3 separate regions of the Homo sapiens genome follow, and all the other regions are linked to region 3. Evidence: promoter capture Hi-C in human tissues and cell types (Jung and others, 2019). All regions are on one chromosome and are shown on one strand. The core of a region is centred on a gene start or on the middle of the fragment in contact, and the rest is flanking DNA. Distances in the headings are between cores, read along the strand shown. Region 1 overlaps RALGAPA1 (Ral GTPase activating protein catalytic subunit alpha 1). Region 2 overlaps RALGAPA1 (Ral GTPase activating protein catalytic subunit alpha 1). Region 3 holds the start of PPP2R3C (protein phosphatase 2 regulatory subunit B''gamma).

Region 1 (4,027 bases), core at 1,261-3,760, 550 kb after region 3:
CAAGCATGGTGCTATGCTAGGCTCCGGAGATACCAAGATGAGTAAGACATGATTACTGTTCTCAGGGAACTGGAAAAACAGGGTTATACAGCTATAAATACCGCTGCTGCTTTGTCTGTTTACACTAGGTGACTGTATCCACTTTCATGGCTTTAAATATCATCTATAAGCTAATGTTGCCCAGCTTTTATTTTCAGTCCTGACATGTCCCTTGAGTATATGCAATTATTCTTCTGACATCTTCCTCATGGATGTCTAATACACATCTTACTAGGCCCCAAATAGAACTCCTTCTATTCACTATTGATCTTTCACTCTTGCAGCTAAACAATGAAATAAGGTATGTTAAACTGCTCTTCAAGTTATACAGTACTAGACAAGTATGTTTTTCTCACAAAAACTCTTAGTTTTTTACAGTAGACTTCCAGTTAATTATTATTTTTCATTTACACTTTGCTCCAGAGTGATCCTTCCAAAATATGAATTTGATCATGTCACTCCTTGCTTAAAATCCTTCAATGGTTACTCATTCCTTCCTTAGGCTTCTATCTAATGTTTTCAGCATTATTGCCTTCCTCTCTAGCTCACCTCTGCCATTTATGGATGAACATATTCCATTTATACTGATTTACTTAGCATTGTCTCACAGTTCCACGACCATATGAAAAAATCTTCACATGCAATTTGAGAGTTTACTCCTGGCTGGGCACGGTGGCTCACGCCTGTAATCCCAGCACTTTGGGAGGCTGAGGCGGGCAGATCACAAGGTCAGGAGTTCGAGACCAGCCTGACCAACATGGTGAAACCCCGTCACTACTAAAAATAGAAAAATTAGCTGGGTGTGGTGGTGCCTGCCTGTAATCCCAGCTATTGAAGAGGCTGAGGCAGGAGAATCACTTGGACCTGTGAGGCGGAGGCTGCAGTGAGCCAAGATCGCACCACTGCACTCCAGCCTGGGCGACAGAGTAAGACTTCCATCTCAAAAAAAAAAAAAGAGAGAGAGAGAGTTTGCTCCTAGGACATATGTCCTTCTATGGTGGATGCCTTACCAAGTTTCTTTTTTTTAATTTTTAAATATATAATTGTTAAAGACAATATATATTCAGGGTGTACAACACGATGATTTGATACACACATACACTGTGTAATGATGACTCACCATTGTTTCTTACCTCTTGCTATAGCCCATTGCTCTTTCTTTGCTTTCTTCCCTCCGTTTCTTTAGATTTCCTCAACTTTAAATCCTGTTCTGCTTATCAGATTTTACTGATTTTAGTGCTTTCTTATATTTCAGATTTCTTGCTTACTTTTTTTAATGTAGGAGAAGCAATCAATTCCAATTAAATTGCAAAATTTCCTGATTATCAGCTTGTTATGTTTTATCAACTTTGTTAGTTGAATCCTGGCTAAAGTTTGTTATATGATAAGGAACAGGAAATGACTTACATTGAGAAAAGCTGAAGAAGCCACTCTACCAGCTGCTACAATAAAATCCATAATAAGCATTGTGGCACCAGGCAAACCAAGTGAAAAAAATTGAGGTGAGCAGTGTTTGATGATTGTATTGACAATATCCTTAGAATAAGGAAAGAAGGAAAAAAGAATATCACATATGTAATCTTGAGTATCAGCTAATCAGTATCATTAAAAATAGATAACATATGAAATAATAAAAAAGGTAATTACTGTACATTGGCTAACTGGAAAGACTAATTTCAATTCTTCCAAATAATCCATGCTTAATATTATATTCTATCAATGGAAAGTAAACTGAAAATACATTCATTTAACTGGCATAAATAACAGCATTTTTTTCACACTAGAGATTAAGGAAGGCTCTTTGCTTCACAAGGTTAAAAGTACAAGGCCCACACAATGTAAAACTAAACTGCATAGCAGTTTTCTCCTGTCACCTAGTTGCTTCTGTGCAATAACTCTCATTTCTGAATCCACATGACCCGTTACGTGACAATTGGAAAGATTCTCTTTTTAAAATAAACTGAAGTCCTTTAATGATAGGTATCAAGCCTCAGAAATCTAGACCTAGGCACTTTTAAGGGAATGTTCCTAACTTCATTATTCATTTACTTTGCCTTTGGAATTTACTATGAGGATACAGTGTATTCAGTTGTATTATTCATTACAACTTATCTTAAACAAAAGCTCTCTTCTTCTAATAATTAAGAGAGTCATTTTACTTGAGACATGTTTACAAGGTAGCACACTAATTTTAAATTAATGCAAAAATTTTACATTTTTCAGAAAGATATTATCTTTTAATATTAATATACTCTGTAAATGACCTACGAGTTCATCATATTAGGATAAACATATTTACATTATTCTGACTTGCAACCTCCTACACTTGTTAGTTTATGGCCAATATCAAGACTCCCAAAGTAATTCTAAGGTTATATTTATGACTATTTAATGATTATACCTCATATAATTATCAAATCAATGTAACTGTCACTATGCCAATATAATTGACAGTAATAAGAAAATGTGATGTGCTGATTCTTAGATTGAAAAAAACCTGACTGTTGCATAACTAGATAAACGAATCCATATGCCTCAAGTATCAGTCACAAAATGCCTAAGAGTAGGTACATTAGAATATTATTAAAGAAAGGTATCAGCCTAAGCAAAGGATGGTTTAATTGCTTCAAAAAGTGAACTGGTTGGTACAACATTAAAGATGGAGAACTACTCAAGTCAATCCTCTACCTACAATAATAGCTTGATTTTCAACCATGTTTCAAGAACAAATAAGGTCATAAAATTGAAGTAAATTGTATATAAATCACTAAATAAGGGGGAGAGTTTAACTTCTAGACCTTAAAAAGCAAGAGTTAAACAGAATCAAGAATCAAAGATAATATGATATAAACTACTTCTTAGATGATACATATATATATAGTTACCTGGTCAATATGAAGTAATCCACAATGCATTATATTGTAGAAATGTGTTAGAAAATCTCTATTTGGAGAAACATCTTGTCTTCTTTTCATTGTATTACAAATAAGTTTATATGCATGTAATTTACCTTGTTTATATTTATCAGTCAACATGGTTGCCTAAAATTAAAAGATCAGTTTTAATGTTCAAAAAGAAATACTATTTGCTAAATAACTTAAGCAACTGAATATAGCAAACGATGTATATAATCTCATTTATTTCCATGTTGGCCCAATTTCTTTAATGAACTAAAATTCAGGATTAGTGAAATTATCATCATCCAAAATGATACAATGTAGGTATAACCATAAACTGTTCCACTTAGGAAAATGTACCAAACATATCAATACTTAAAATAATTAAATCTTTTGGCTGGGCACAGTGGCTTAAGCCTGTAATCCCAGCACTTTGGAAGACCAAGGCAGAAGGGTCTCTTGAGGCCAGGAGTTTGAGACCAGCCTGGGCAACATAGAGAAACTCTGTCTTTACAAAAAAATAAAAAATTAGCCAGGCACGGTGGCACACGCCTGTAGTAGTCTCAGCTACTTGGAAGGCTGAAGTGGGAGGATTGCTTGAGCCCAGGAGTTCAAGGCTGCAGTGAGCTGTGATCATGCCACTGCACTCCAAGTCTGGGTGACTGAGTGAGGCCCTGTCTTTTAAAAAACAAACAAAAAAGAATTAAAATTTTTTTTTTGAGACGGAGTTTCGCTCTCATCACACAGGCTGGAGTGCAATGGCGCCATCTCAGCTCACTGCAACCTCCGCCTCCTATGTTCAAGCGATTCTCCTGCCTCAGCCTCTCGAGTAGCTGGGATTACAGGTGCCCACCACCATGCCCAGCTAATTTTTTGTATTTTTAGTAGAGACAGGGTTTCACCATGTTGGCCAGGCTGGTCTCAAACTCCTGACCTCATGTGATCCACCCGGCTCAGCCTCCCAAAGTGCTGCGATTACAGGTGTGAGTCACCTCACCCGGTCACAACTTTTAATACACAGCATATTCTGTGATACAACTCAAAGTTTATACTTCAGTTAAATACAATACAGACATACCTCTCTATATTCA
Region 2 (4,096 bases), core at 217-2,716, 570 kb after region 3:
AACTATAATGTTGGTGCTGGCTGTAGGACCTTGATTTCTATTATGTTAGTTGTCAAAATAATTTCTATCAAGAAAAAATACAAAACCAAATAGATCAGCAGTAAAAATAAGTGAAATCAGTTAGATATATCTGGTGCCCTTTTAAACTATAGTGGGGTGGGGAAGAAAGCATAGTAACTCCTTGATAATCTTAATTTCCATACTTGTGGTATACACTCAGAAAAATACTTGATTTAGGTAGTCTTTGATAGGTTATTGAAATTTTCCTATATATCCACTTTCCTATGTTGTTGTTCAGCAGCAAAGAGGTTTAACTAAATGCCTTATAAGGGAAATTAGTAATTTAAATAAACATTCTATGCTGGGAAAAATACAGCTGGGAAAAGGCGCATGCATAACCAAACAGAGAGAAAGCAGTGACCATCCCAAAGCTTTTTGATTGCTTATAGCTTGCTTCAGTTGCATTAAGCCAAACTGGTGCTGTCTTTCTCCTTTTGCGCTCTGCACACTGTTAGTGCTCACCTGCAGCTTTCCTTCCAAAATAGCCCATTACATGACTGTACAGATCCCTCAGTGGAGCCTCTGGTGGCATTCTGTTCTGCCTCTGTGGGGAAACATTTGCCTTCGGCTTCGAAAGAGCATGTACAACAGTTTTATAAACGCCACCCAGGGAGCCCTGCTGTAGTCCTGCCTCATGACTTGATGACCTAAGAGTACTACGACTACCTAATTGACTACTTGCAATTCCTTCTTTTTGTAATATGGTGGTGGGAATCTCTGTGGATTCCTTCACTGTTTTGCTGCTTACTGATGCAGTACCAAGTGTATCTAGAGGTCTGTACACACCAGGTTTTACTAGCTCTGTAGCACTATTTGTGCTGGTATGGGTGTTGCTAGTGCTGCTATTGCTGCTACCACTACTAAAGCCACCGAGCTTCCGCAGTCTCATCTTCCATGGAGCCTCTTTGTTTTCCAGAGGATTATAAAACTGAACGGACTCAGTGGATGGCCTAAAAGTAACATGAACACTATTTCGTTTTTTAGTAGCAATTTTCATGATTTTGGCTCTATGAGTTACTGTTTCAGACAAGCTCCTTTTAGTTGGAGAAAGTTTGCTAGTACTTGTAACATGAGGCATTCTGCGGTTAACAGGTGCTTTTAGTGTTGCTTTCTTGGCACGCATAACATGTGGGACAGTGATTTTTTCATTAATTTGCACACTCTTAAGCTTTTCAACTAGTGTTACATCAACACAAGCATCTAATTCTGTGGCTGCTTGTCTGTACAGATGTTTCCTTTTTTCTTTATCACAAGGGCTATCTAAACTAGGCTCTGATGGCTGTTTATCAGTGTTTAGTTGCTTAGATTTTTCAGAAGTTTGTGTTCTAAAAAAACTGTCTGACTGGTTAGGTGCGATATTACTCATGAAGACAGCTGAGTTTGGTTCTTTCTGAAACTGTAGGTTTTCAGGAGTCCCAACAAAAGAGGTGATATTTTCTGATTCAGTTTCCTGATCTGTGCATTCTAATTTATCTAAGGATAATCTTTCACCCCTATTTACTGCAATAGTCACTTCCTGAGAAGCTGGGTCTTTCCCTGTCTCATTTTTACTATGATTTTCCTGGTTTTCCTTAAAATATTCTTTCAGGGTGGAAAGAAGATCATCATCTCCTTCAAGGTCAATGTACTGGATTTGTTCAAAAGCTGAATCTGCAAGTTCTACTGGACCTATTAAATGACAAAGATGGTCATATATGCTATCACCAACTTCCAGAGAAGACTCTCTACTATGAGTATCAGTGATGTGGCTTTCAGTGGATCTAGTTATTGAAGAAGCCTCTGTGGAACTCTGCAAGCTTGGTGCATGACGGGATGAACTGTCAATGACAGGAACTGCACCTTTGGCTCGTTCAACAGTGAATGGTTCCAAGATGTCAGAAGTGCTGCTACTTCGAGGCAATGGCTGCTCCTCATTCAAAGCACCAAAAACTTCATTTCCAGTTTCTTCACTTTGTGAAAAATGTCTGACTCTAGTTGAGCGGGGAAGTATTTGAGCATCATCAATATCTGTAAAAGAAAAAAAAATTATGTAGAGAAGAACTACACAAATATAAAAAATAATTATTAATTTCAATAATGCTCTAAAGCATATGCTTTAAAAAAAATCTGAGTTTTTGTAAGCTCAATGAAAAAAAAATCAAAATACAAATCTGCTTTTTTAAAAAAATGATGGGCACAAGCCAATATAGCATGTAGTGTCAATGAATTAGAAAACTACCAAAACACATTTTAAAATGTTAACATGCATAGAAACAGACAGTGAGGTGATGAAACATTTGGAAGTGCAGATAAAGATAGAGCTGTGCCAATAAATCAAGCAACTCAAATGCTATTAAATTTTTCCTACTTATTTACGTTCCAAGCAGAAAAAATACACCTTAACACAGAAAGCCGATCCAAGTATCCCACTGTAGACTCTTATAGGGTCTAATAAATTCTCCAGCTTCCTTCCCAAAAAGGCAAGAGGCATCTTTTCTTCAAATTTTGCTTCTCTGTTTGATTACATATTAGAAATGAAAGTCTCTACCCTCTTCCTAAATTTCTCTTTGTCAGGAAACTGTTCTCCCCAGGTGTTTTACTTTATTACGTATTAAAATCTTATTCACTGACATCAAATAAAGTCAATATATTTTTTAAAAAATCAATTGTATTCTTTTGTTTTTGGCAAAAACACCACTTAAATCTGCTAGGAAGAAACTTTACCTGCCTGTTATTGGCCCTTTCCATTAAACAGCCATCAAGCTCTAAAAACTATATTTCTGGCTTCTTACATCTCTTTTTAAGAATTATAGGCTGGGCGCGGTGGCTCACACCTATAATCCCAGCACTCTGGGAGGCTGAGGTGGGCAGATCACCTGAGGTCGGGAGTTCAAGACCAGCCTGACCAACATGGAGAAACCCCATCTCTATTAAAAACACAAAACTAGCCGGGCGTGGTGGTGCATGCCTGTAATTCCAGCTACTTGGGAGGCTGAGGCAGGAGAACTGCTTGAACCCATGAGGCAGAGGCTGCGGTGAGCCGAAATAATGCCACTGCACTCCAGCCTGGGCAACAAGAGCAAAACTCCGTCTCAAATAATAATAATAATAATAATTATTATTATTATTATAGATGGACATTCAGAGATTATCTAATTTAACTATCTCACAGATGAGAAAATTGAAGCCCAGAGAGGTTAAGTTACTTTATCAAATTTACAATAAAAAAGTTTGAGAAACAGGCTTAGTGTTGCATATCACTGCATTATTTTCACTGCCTTCAGTGTCAGGATGAAATAACCATTTAACTGTTCAGATATATACAAATTCTCAACAGGAATTGTGGAAGCAAAATACAATGTCTATGAATCCATCATGGTCTGTAAGTTACCTAGAAATAACAAAAAAAAATTGTTTTCAGAAGTCAGCAAAATATAATGAAGAAAGGACAGAGTCAAAAAGTCAGCTGTTGCTACTTATTAGGCTTCTTGCACAAAAGTTAAATGCAACAGAACTATAACTGAACAATCAAAATGAGAAAATTTAGATCCAGAAGCAAAGCAGTGACTTGTCCAAGATTACAAAATAATTTGTTGATTCTTACTCTAGATTTTGAGACTAGTTTCCTCATTTATAAAATGGAGATAGTCATTCAAAGTATTTTTGGGATCCATGCTACTATGGCTGAAAAAAGGCTAGTCCCTCTGCAATTTCATTCATATCACCCTATTTGTATGAGGTCCAAATGGACCTACTTTATACTAAATTGAGATCAACATAGGTTTGTATTATGCCAAGATTCTAGTATATTCCTAGTGATATACTAGTAGGCTCTCAACATAGGTTAAATATATAGTATCTCCTGAAGCTGAAACAATTAACTTTTTGTCCTTAAACTGAGGGGAATGTGCAACTTTAAAAAATGACATTGTTTTTCTTCCTCATGCACTCCACTGAGAAATTTTTCTAAGTGAAAAGCGAAACATTTCCTTACAAACTTCACTTTGATGCACTTATACTCATTAAGCGTTTGTTAATACAGCAGATAACTAACTCA
Region 3 (4,050 bases), core at 1,214-3,713:
AAACGGTGTTTCACTATGTTGCCCAGGCTGGTCTCAAACTCCTGGCCTCAAGCGATCTTCCCATCTCGGCCTCCCAAAGTGCTGGGGTTACATGAATGAGCCACCGAGCCTCCCAACACCACTACCCCCGACCACCCACCTTTTAAAAAGATGGGTGATATTAACAGCACGTTTGTGCTGGTGTAAATGATCCAGCAGAAGGAAAATCTGATGATGTAGGAAAGAAAGGAGGAGGCTGGAAGGAAGTCAGTGAATACAGGGAAAAGAATGCAATCTAGTGGTGGACTGGAGGGACTCTTAAATAGGAGCATGGACAGTTCATCTTTTTTTTTTTTTTTTTTTGAGACGGAGTCTCGCTCTGTCGCCCAGGCTGGAGTGCAGTGGCACAATCTCCGGCTCACTACAACCTCCGCCTCCCGGGTTCACGCCATTCTCCTGCCTCAGCCTCCTGAGTAGCTGGGACTACAGGCGCCCGCCACCGCACCCGTCTAATTTTTTGTATTTTTAGTAGAGACGGGGTTTCACTGCGGTCTCAGTCTCCTGACCTCGTGATCCGCCCGCCTCGGCCTCCCAAAGTGCTGGGATTACAGGCTTGAGCCACCGCGCCCGGCATCAGTTCATCATTTTAACAGTGAAGCCAGAGTGTATGGGCAACTAACTGTGGGGTTGTGGGGCTGAAAGAAATGTTAAGGGGGACAGGTGATGTTCTCCTCTGACTGCTTCTCCTTTTTTTTTGAGACTGAGTGTCGCTCGGTCGCCCAGGCCGGAGTGCAGTGGCACAATCTCGGGCTCACTGCAAGCTCCGCCTCTCGGGTTGAAGGTATTCTCCTGCCTCAACCTCTGGAGTAGCTGGGACTATAGGCGCCCGCCACCACTACCGGGTAATTTTTTTGTATTTTTAGTAGAGACGGGGTTTCACCGTGTTAGCCAGGATGGTCTCGATCTGCTGACCTCGTGATCCGCCCGCCTCGGCCTCCCAAAGTGCTGGGATTACAGGACTGAGCGACCGCGCCCGGCCGACTGCTTCTCCTTTCTTAATGAGATATATATTAAAATACAAGTTCATCAGCTTAAAGTAAGAAGCGGGTAGGACAGACTGCAGGTGTAGGAGATGAGAAGAATAGTGTAAAAGAGTGTTGCCTGGGTGCGGCGGCTCACGTCTGTAATAGCAACACTTTGGGAGGTGGAGGTAGGAAGACTGCCTGAGGCCAGGAATTCGAGACCAGCCCAGGCAACATAGCAAGACCTCATCTCCACTAAAAATAAAAAATTAGCCGGGTGTGGTGGCGTGTGCCTGTACTTCTAGCTGCTCAAGAGGCTGGGGTGGGAAGATCCCTTGAGCCCAGGAAATCGAGGTTGCAGCAATACTTCACTGCGCCGCTGCACTCCAGCCTGGGCAACACAGGGAGATCCTGTATCGGAAAAAAAAAAGTGTATTTAGGAAAACACAGATTGGCAGTTTGGGAGATGAAAATTGAATGTAGGAGAATGAACGTCCAGGAAAACACGGTAGACATGACCAAAACACCTTCTTTAGATTAGTGGACTTGTATTAAAAGTGAGATAACTCGGCGGGGCGCGGTGACTCACGTCTGTAATTCCAGCACTTTGGGAGGCCGAGGTGGGCGAATCACAAGGTCAGGAGTTTGAGACCAGCCTGGCCAATATGGCGAAACCCCGTCTCTACTAGAAATACAAAAATTAACCGGCCGTGGTTGCGCGCGCTTATAGTTCCAGCTACTCCAGAGGCTGAGGCAGAAGAACCGCTTGAACCCGGGAGGCAGAGGTTGCAGTGAGCGGAGATGCTGCCACTGCACTCCAGCCAGCCTGGGCGACAGAGCAAGAGACTCCGTCTCAAAAAAAAAAGTGAGACAACTCACCAAGGTTCTGTTTTTCTCCAGCCACTTTCAACAGCCCTTAGTGCGGGTGTGGAATAGGAAAGGTAGATTTAACGAGGTTAGTTAATAAGCAATGTGAAGGAGAAAAATAAAAGGAAAAATGGATTATGAAATATAAAATGGATTACGAGGGAAGCAAAAAGCGTGACAGTAAAAAGGCAGGAGGACAATTATAGGTCCTGGTGGGGTTCAGGCGTTGTTGGAGCCGGGGTTCCAAGTTATTCTTCACAAGTTTAGATTAAGACCATGGAAGTCAGTGACTAAAGCTAAGTTTTTCGTTCCTCTAGATTCTGCCCCAGGAAAGTTTGGGTCAAACCTATCGGGATCCTTAAACCACATTCCACTCCGCCTCCTTTGTCGGGAGGTTTCACAGAAGCGGAAAAGGCGGCTCCCCCTTGCTCCTCCTCCCCACCTCCCCCCTACCTCTAGGAGTTTAGGGCCGGGCCATCCCAACGGGCTGCCCCTCCCAAAACTCACTGTTTGGACAGGTGTTGGGCGTCGCTAGGCGCCGACGAAGAACTTCTTTCCAGTCCATGGCCGACTTCCGCGCAGCAGCTTCTGCATTTGCTGTTTCCTACCTGCTCCACCCCTACCAGCTCAGGCGTCAGCACCGCCAGGCCCCGTAAAGGTTAGGAAGGCCGTCCAACCACCATCTTGATCGAGGGCGGAAGTCTTGGCTAAAGAGGCAAAAACAATTACTGTCACTGCCGCGGAGAATACCGCTACCACGCTGACTGGGGGAAAAAACTATGAAAGAGATGGAAAATGGTTCTCCTTCAGAGGCGACCCAAGCTCACCAAGCCGGATTTTAAAGGCCACGATAAGCCCGCGTTTTCCTTTATCGTGTGCCTTTGGCGCGTGCGCACCACGTGACCCAGGAGTTCATTAGTTCCGGCTTGAGGGAAGCGCCTTCTTTCACAATTTCTTTTCATTGTTCATTGCGGATATCTGGAAGCCTTCCAGGTCCCCTGAATGTAGTAGACACTTCAGCAGCCGTCTCCTACCCCTTTTGCCACTAAATGCTTCAAAACTGCCTTTTTTCCTCGCCGCCGGGCCAGGCGGAACGCCTAAGTCCGGGTCAGTCTCGTCCGTCGGTCGGGGCTGGCGCGGTGCATCGTGGGCACTGTAGTTTCCGCCGCGTTTATGGCCGCGTTAAGTCTGAGTGCCGCTTTGAGTTGTTGAATGAAGTGAACTTCATTTGTCAGCGTTCGGTACGCAGTCTAGGCAGCGCCCTTCCTGTACCTCTCTTCCTTTCCTGAGTCGTTGGCGCAGCTGACTCGCCACCTCCTCCCTCCTCGTCCCCCCACCGGAGGAGTTTTGCGGTCTGTAGAGAGCTATGCAGGGTGAGGGCCCCTAGACTTCGGCTTTCGCCGCTGTTGGTGGTAGGCTGGAGTTGGGGGTCCCTGGATACGGTTTTGGCTTTACACCCCCTTTCCAGCAAGCTTCCCGTGGGAATCTGTTCCTTTTCAGGACAGCTGTGATCCACGTGAGTAAAACTGGGCGTTCCGTCTTGTGCTTTTTCCTCAGGTTCATGAACTGGAATGTAAGAGGCACCAGAGGATTCCTGCTCTGTCCCCTGGTTTGCGGCTTGCGACGTTGGACATCCCCGGATTGTTGTTTAATAGAGAAAACTCACCTGCCTTCTTGCTTTTAAGTAGCCCCAAAAGCAGAACCTTGATTTGTCTGTAAGGAAGAAACACAAACCTTTTAAAAAGTTCCACTTCGACTCTGCACCGCCGACCCCCAATCTCTTTAATTTTGCCATAGAAGAGGGGTTTTTTCAACATCTCTCTCACTATCTGGTGCTGATCTCACTGCATAATGACTTTCTATTTGTTTGGTATTCGAAGCTTTCCGAAGCTTTGGAAGAGCCCATACCTTGGGCTAGGCCCAGGGCACTCTTATGTCTCGCTGTTTCTGGCAGACCGCTGTGGCATCAGGAACCAGCAGAGGTTGTTTTCTCTTAAAACAATGTCTCCACAGAATACCAAAGCAACGAATCTGATTGCCAAGGCCAGATATCTCAGGAAAGATGAGGGCAGTAATAAGCAAGTTTATTCTGTTCCTCATTTTTTTTTAGCTGGAGCAGCTAAGGAGAGATCACAGATGAATTCTCAAACTGAAGATCATGCCTTGGCACCTGTGAGGAACA

What was found. Contacts are between HindIII fragments. The study calls those that stand out against the background at their distance.
Region 1: a contact is called between a fragment that was not itself captured here and the fragment with the promoter of PPP2R3C in region 3, in 1 of the 25 tissues and cell types used here (mesendoderm cells).
Region 2: a contact is called between a fragment that was not itself captured here and the fragment with the promoter of PPP2R3C in region 3, in 1 of the 25 tissues and cell types used here (dorsolateral prefrontal cortex).

Annotation. Positions count from the first base shown.
Region 1 is chr14:35,669,943-35,673,969 of GRCh38, forward strand. It overlaps RALGAPA1 (Ral GTPase activating protein catalytic subunit alpha 1), which reads right to left. Exons shown (of 42, transcript NM_001346249.2): 25 at 2,925-3,080; 26 at 1,447-1,575. Among named protein-coding and RNA genes, the nearest start is that of SNORA101B, 91 kb to the right of the region's middle. The HindIII fragment of the contact is 6,397 bases long and covers 1-4,027 here.
Region 2 is chr14:35,687,937-35,692,032 of GRCh38, forward strand. It overlaps RALGAPA1 (Ral GTPase activating protein catalytic subunit alpha 1), which reads right to left. Exons shown (of 42, transcript NM_001346249.2): 18 at 523-2,067. Among named protein-coding and RNA genes, the nearest start is that of SNORA101B, 73 kb to the right of the region's middle. The HindIII fragment of the contact is 3,538 bases long and covers 1-3,235 here.
Region 3 is chr14:35,119,527-35,123,576 of GRCh38, forward strand. PPP2R3C (protein phosphatase 2 regulatory subunit B''gamma) reads right to left here and starts at 2,464. Exons shown (of 13, transcript NM_017917.4): 1 at 2,376-2,464. The coding sequence starts at 2,433. It overlaps PRORP (protein only RNase P catalytic subunit), which reads left to right and starts at 3,026. Exons shown (of 8, transcript NM_014672.4): 1 at 3,026-3,109; 2 at 3,426-4,050. The coding sequence starts at 3,720. It overlaps PRORP-PSMA6 (PRORP-PSMA6 readthrough), which reads left to right and starts at 2,313. Exons shown (of 15, transcript NR_182666.1): 1 at 2,313-2,526; 2 at 3,426-4,050. RefSeq lists enhancers at 1,668-2,867, 2,087-3,006, 2,250-2,379, 2,920-2,999, 3,007-3,926 and 1 more. The HindIII fragment of the contact is 11,618 bases long and covers 1-3,544 here.